Linked DNA regions of Homo sapiens: region 1 is linked to region 2. Evidence: promoter capture Hi-C in 16 types of primary human blood cells and fetal thymus (Javierre and others, 2016). All regions are on one chromosome and are shown on one strand. The core of a region is centred on a gene start or on the middle of the fragment in contact, and the rest is flanking DNA. Distances in the headings are between cores, read along the strand shown. Region 1 has its middle 30 kb from the start of OR10G7. Region 2 holds the start of OR10D3 (olfactory receptor family 10 subfamily D member 3).

What was found. The method cuts DNA at HindIII sites, captures the fragments that hold promoters and counts their contacts. A CHiCAGO score of 5 or more calls a contact.
Region 1: a fragment that was not itself captured here is called in contact with the fragment with the promoter of OR10D3 in region 2 in 2 of 17 cell types (erythroblasts and megakaryocytes); the score reaches 6.2 in erythroblasts.

What each region holds. Positions count from the first base shown.
Region 1 is chr11:124,069,665-124,072,727 of GRCh38, reverse strand. No RefSeq gene overlaps it. Among named protein-coding and RNA genes, the nearest start is that of OR10G7, 30 kb to the right of the region's middle. The HindIII fragment of the contact is 5,328 bases long and covers 1-3,063 here.
Region 2 is chr11:124,181,479-124,184,626 of GRCh38, reverse strand. OR10D3 (olfactory receptor family 10 subfamily D member 3) reads right to left here and starts at 1,282. Exons shown (of 2, transcript NM_001355213.3): 1 at 1,244-1,282. The HindIII fragment of the contact is 5,579 bases long and covers 1-3,116 here.

The DNA of each region.
Region 1 (3,063 bases), core at 475-2,974, 110 kb after region 2:
AGGTAAAGCAAAATGAAACAAAAATATGTATGAGTTATGGGAAAATAGAAGAAAGAAAAAGGAGGCCGCAAGCAGTGGCTCACGCCTGTAATCCCAGCATTTTGGGAGGCCGAGGCGGGCAGATCATGAGGTCAGGAGATCAAGATCAGCCTGGCCAACACGGTGAAACCCTGTCCCTAGTAAAAATACAAAAAAATTTAGCCAAGCGTGGTGGCGCACGCCTGTGATCCTAGCTACTCGGGAGGCTGAGGTAGGAGAATTGCTTGAACCTGGGAGGTGGAGGTTGTAGTTAACAGAGATCGTTCCACTGCACTCTAGCCTGGGTGACAAGAGAGAGACTCCGTCTCAAAATAAATAAATAAATAAATAAATAAATAAATAAATAAATAAATAAAACAAGAAAGAAAGAAAAAGGAAAAGATGTGGAAAAGGTAGAAATAAGTCAGTGTATTCCTGCGGGACTACATAAGACAAAAGGACAAGCACTTCTCTCTTTCCTTCTCCATCACAAACAAACCTTTCCGTCAGATTTAGTGTAAGTTTTATCAAACTGTATGTCACAGAATAGTCAGAATATCCTGTAGCTGGGAAATTCCTTTTATTCTGTTTTCTTTTGTTGAAAGCAAAACTCGTATCACGTTATTAATGCACAATTTCCTGGGTTAAAATTAACTTTGGGGACTCCCTGCCAAAGGAATTCAAGCCCCGCTCTATGGAAGGAAAAAAAAAGAAGTCAAATTCCCTTCTCTGCTAGCTCAGAAGAGGAATGATGAAGGTACGTGCTGAAGCCGATCTGTCGGCCACGTGCTTTTAGCACCAAGTGGTTCTTGTGCAGTCTGTAAACACAGGCAGGGTCCTGTGACCTTTGCCAGCTGTATTTCCATCAAGACTTTCTCCATTCTTACCTGAAACACCTTGTGAACCCAATGGCTGTTTACACACAAAGAGTCGTGGGTCTACTGACACCAATTGGTAAAAATGGTAGCAATTGACTGGTTATTTAACTGGCTCTCTAGAAAGACTATAGCACATGGTGGTGCCATCAGAAATCATAAGCATCACAGACCTCTCTAACACAGTTCTAATAATAATTTCAACCATTCTTTATCCTATTGATTCAGCTCCAGGGTCTTTATTGCAAGCTACTTGTTAGTGAAGAGGAATCTGGTTGTCGGTGCCCCAATAGTGCCATCTGCCGGCCGATGTTAGGTATTTCACCTTAATTCGGAGTCCTGTTTCAAGAGCGGGATTTCAAAATCAAGAGTACTACTGGAAATGGAAATATCATTGCCCTACCAAAATCAGAAATTAGAAGACCTCTAGACACTTTTTTTCCCCAAAGTCATGAACATCTTCCTGTAAATGAAAATTCCTGTAATGGTACACAATTTGTAGATGTGAAAGAATCCTCTAAAATGATCTAGTTCAACCTCTTCATTTTACAAATATTAGAACTAAAGCCATAGAGACAAAATAATTTATTCAGGACCACACAGGCTATTATTAGTGGAACCACTGTTAGAACCCCGGTATTTTGCTGATTCACACATAAGTGCTTTTTAACATGCTATAAGCAGGAAAGATATTTATAGTCTTTCCCACTTCCTCATCTGAGGCCACTATGAAAGAACACTACTATTACTATTACTTTCCTACGCCTCCACCATGAGAACAGTCACACACACACACGCACACACACACACACACACACTCTCATAGTCACAAAAGGATATTCTACTTATAATCAGAAATCCTCTTGAAACAAGAATTAACATTCAAAATGTGAAAACCTACAAAAATAAAATTATTAAAAATAATTACAGCCTTTTTTTAAACTTTATTCTGACAAGAGCATTCTAAAACCTTCAGCAAATAGATATGTCAGCAAGTAAACAGTTTTAAAAATGGAACTAGGCCAGGTGTGGTGGCTCACACCTGTGATCCAAGCACGTTGGGAGGCCAAGGCAGGAGGATCACTCAAGCCCAGGAGTTTGAGACCAGCCTGGGCAACATGGTAAAACCTTGTCTCTACAGAAAATATAAAACTTAGCTGGGCATGGTGTCACATGCCTGTAGTTTCAGCTACTTGAAGGCTGAGGTGAGAGGATCGATTGAGCCCAGAAGGTTGAGGCTGCAGTGAACTAGGATTGTATCTCTGCATTCTAGCCCGAGAGACAGAGCAAGAACCTCAAAAAAGTAACTAAACTTTATTTTTGTATAATTAAACAAATTTGGTTAGGGCTCCATTTTATTCCATAACATGAAGTAGGGTGTGTGAATATGATAGCTGTGACACAAACTATGCTGGCGGTGTAAGATTTCTGCTCTACGGAAGGTAGCTAAATAGACATGAGGGACCAAGCAGAGTGGGTTCTCCACTGGGAGAAAATGTGAACTGGCTAACATGTAATGACCTTTTCACTATAATTTCATAATTCAATTTTTCTGCACAGTACTGATATGGGAGGGGGCAAGGAAGGGCTGGGAGGAGAACGGCGGGTCCCTGGGGAGGGCTCCACCCCTGGACCTGTGCCCATGGAACTAGGGGAGAACAGGCACTCCTGCTTTCAGGTCCAAATGTTGCATTTCCCAAGACCACCCTGGCCCACCATGTCCCCATCCTGTGCCTATAAAAACCCTGAGACCCTAGTGCGCACGGACACAGCAGCTGGACATCGTGAGAAACACATCAGCAGGAGAACACAGAAGCGGCTAGACATCAAGAGGAACACTTCGGTTGAAGAGCACACCGAACGGCACCAGCAGACGCCGGCAGGCCATTGACCAGTGGAATGAAGCGGAGTTTAGCTGGAGCTGTCAGAGGAGAGTCACGCCGCTGAGCTGACTCCATGGGAAAACCACCTTCCCGCTCCCCTTCTGGCTCCCCATCCGTCTGCTGAGAGCTATTTCCACCATTCAATAAAATTTGGCACTCATTCTCCAAGCCCATATGTGATCTGATTCTTCTAGTACACCAAGGCAAGAACCCCGGGATACAGAGAGTCCTCCACCCTTGCTATAAGGCAGAGGGTCTAATTAAGCTGATTAACACAAGCTGCCAAC
Region 2 (3,148 bases), core at 33-2,532:
CTAGGCATCTACATTCTTTTTTTTTCTTTTTAAACATCAGTCTTTCCCCCGGGTCTGGATGGATCCATCTGTGATAGATCACGGCATTACTGGCCTTGTCAAATCTTACCCCGGTATTAACCATGTTTTTCATTTGGACATCACCAGGCTCTTAAAATGTTGTTCCTCCTCCTCCTTAGTAAGCAATGGAAAATCAATATATATCCAGCTACCTCCCCACACACACACAAATATAACATCTAGGAGAGTAAATATTTTTTGTGTTTACGATTATACTCTCAGTGCAAAGAACAGTGCCTTTTTCAATAAACGTTTGATGAAGGAAATAAGATAACTCACTCAATGCCTGGCAAGAATTGGATATCATTCCTCTTGTGCAAGGATCTGTGTGGTACTATCAGATAGTAATTTCTCCTCACAGTCTTCTAAAGCAACTTGATCATCTACCTGTTTCTCTTTTGCCCATTTCCTGTATATTTGGAATTTCTCTGTTTACAATCATGTCACCTGCACTCCAGAAGAAGCTCTACACTACATTCCAAAAAGCAATCAGACCCAAGACAAGTGCTACATATAATCTATACTGCTTCCAAAAATGTCCTGGCTGTCATACATCAAAGAAAGAATCAAATGAAGATATCCACATATGGGCTCATTTAGAGTTTCTGTTACTTTAATAATATAAAATCAAGTCCAAATTCCTGATTGTAAAGTGAAATAACAAGAATGGGGTTTGTGAGCTGATGGGCCAGCACAATGGGCTCAAAGATAAACCAAGCAAATAAGATCTATTCTTCTGGCCAGTAGATCCATGCTCTCTGTTCATTCTGAATTCTGAGAATACTTTGTAAACTGAGGACTCCAAATTTTCCTCTCCATTGGATACACAAAGCATAAAAGAGGAGTGAAAAAAGAGGTGAGGGCCCCTATAATTTCAGCTACTCTGGAGACTAAGGCAGGAGAATTGCTTGAACCCGGGAGGTGGAGGTTGCAGTGAGCTGAGATCGTGCCACTGCACTTCAGCCTGGCCAACAGAGTGAGACTCAGGGAGGGAGGGAGGGAGGGAAGGAGGGAAGGAGGGAAGGAGGCAGGGAGGGAGGGAGGGAAGGAAGGAAGGGGAAAGAAAGAAAAAAAAAGAAAGAGAAAAAAAGAGAAAGAAAGAGAAAGAGAGAGAAAGAGAGAGAGAAAGAGAGAGAGAAAGAAAGAGAGAGAAAGAGGCAAAGATGGCACTTATGTAACTTACAAAGAGAAAGTATGATCATTTAATCATCTGTTTGTATAGGATTTTTAGTCCAAATTTTCCTTTGGCATATTAGAGGTTAGGGATCTCCACCCATGATCTGGAATGCTTTCTTCTTAGCCAAATAAACTCTGACTAAATGACATGCAGCAGCGTGCGTCTCTGTCTTCTGCACAGACATCTTCCAAGACACTGATATCTACATTGCTTTCTCCTACGTGGAAATTTAAATATCTTTGGAGCCTTTGGGACCCCATTCCTGAATGAGTCCTATTCAAGGAGGTTGTTGAGCAAAGGGAGTAATTAGAAGTGAGTAAACTGTCTAGTTGAAATAGAATATGGTGATGTTTCCCACTGTGACAGTGCTGGATAGGAACAAGGGGGAGCCAAATCTCTATTTTCTACCTCTAAGATTGACCCTGGGAAAGGAGAAAAAAGGTGAATGGTATAGCCCAATCCTAGGACATATGTAGAAACCAGTTACCCAGTTTCAGGATACATTATCGGAATGAGAAATAACCTAACAACCATATATCTCAGACTTTTAAAAATATCCAATTTTAAATATTTTAATCTCAGTTTCTTCATAGTTCTTGCCATGAACTGAATTGTGTTCCTTCAAAAATTCGTGTTGAAACTCTTAACACACCCAATCCACGTAACTGTATTGGAAGTAGGGTCTTTAAGAAGGTGAATAAAGTTAAATGAGACCATAAGGATGAAGCCCTGATGCAATAGAACTGGTATCTTTGTAAAAGGAGAGACATCAGATCTCTCTCTCTGTCTCTTTCTCTCTCTCTCTCTGCCTGTCTTTTTCTCTCCCTTTATCTCTCCATGTGAGAACACAGCAAGAAGACAGCCCCATCTCTAAGCCCCAGAAACCAAACCCTGCTGCAAAACCTGTGCAACCTTGATCTTGAATTTTACAATCTGCAGAACTGCGAGAAAAAAAATTCCTGTTGTTTGTGTCACCTAGTATATTCTGTTTTGTTATGGCAGCCCTAGTGAACTAACATAGTTCTTCTACTTTTCAGACTATGGTTTCTAATATTTTGATATAGAAATAGAATTTCTTTTCCTAGACTCCAACAAACATTTGTCAATTGGCACAGCTGAATTTCCTGAACCAGAAATAGTTCTCCTGATGATATTCCCAGAATTATATCAAAGTATTATTCAACAAACATTAATTAATAACCTATACAACCAAGAATAAGACAAATTTCCTTAATCTTGACCTTCTCTTCTGTGAAAGGAGTCAAGAACCTTGCCCTTTGAGATTCCAGACATTTGTAATCTGGAAATTATTCCTCTTTCATGTAACGTAACAGTTACAGAGTTGTCAAAGAACTGAAAAATATGTAAAAACCTGAAATAATAAAGTAGAGAAAACAAAAGAAAAGAGGTCAGCAATGCTAAATTTGGCTCTTTGAAAAGACTAAGAAAATAGAAGTACTTCTTTAAAAATGATTCTTGAAAAAAGTGAGAAGGCACATATAAACATGAGGAATGAAAGGATGACAGAAGCACATGGATTAAGCAGAATGAAAAGAGATATTACAACATTTGCCAAGATATTCAAATGATTTGTCAAAATAATTTATCAAATGCTTATTAATTTGTGAAAACTGACTAAAAATAGAAAATATGAAGAGTCGTATGTAAAAGTTTCTATTGCTTACTGCATAACCAATTACTCCAAACTTTTGTGGCTTAGAGGCATTTATTATCTCATGCTTTCTGTGACTCAGAAATCCAAGCACACCTTAACTCAATTCCTCTGGATCAGGGTCTCTCATGAAGTTACAGTCAAGCTACCAGCTGGGGCTGTGGTCTCCTCTGAAGGTTTGACTGGGAAAGGATCTATTTCCAAGCTTACTCACATGGCTACTGGCAGACCTGGCCCTG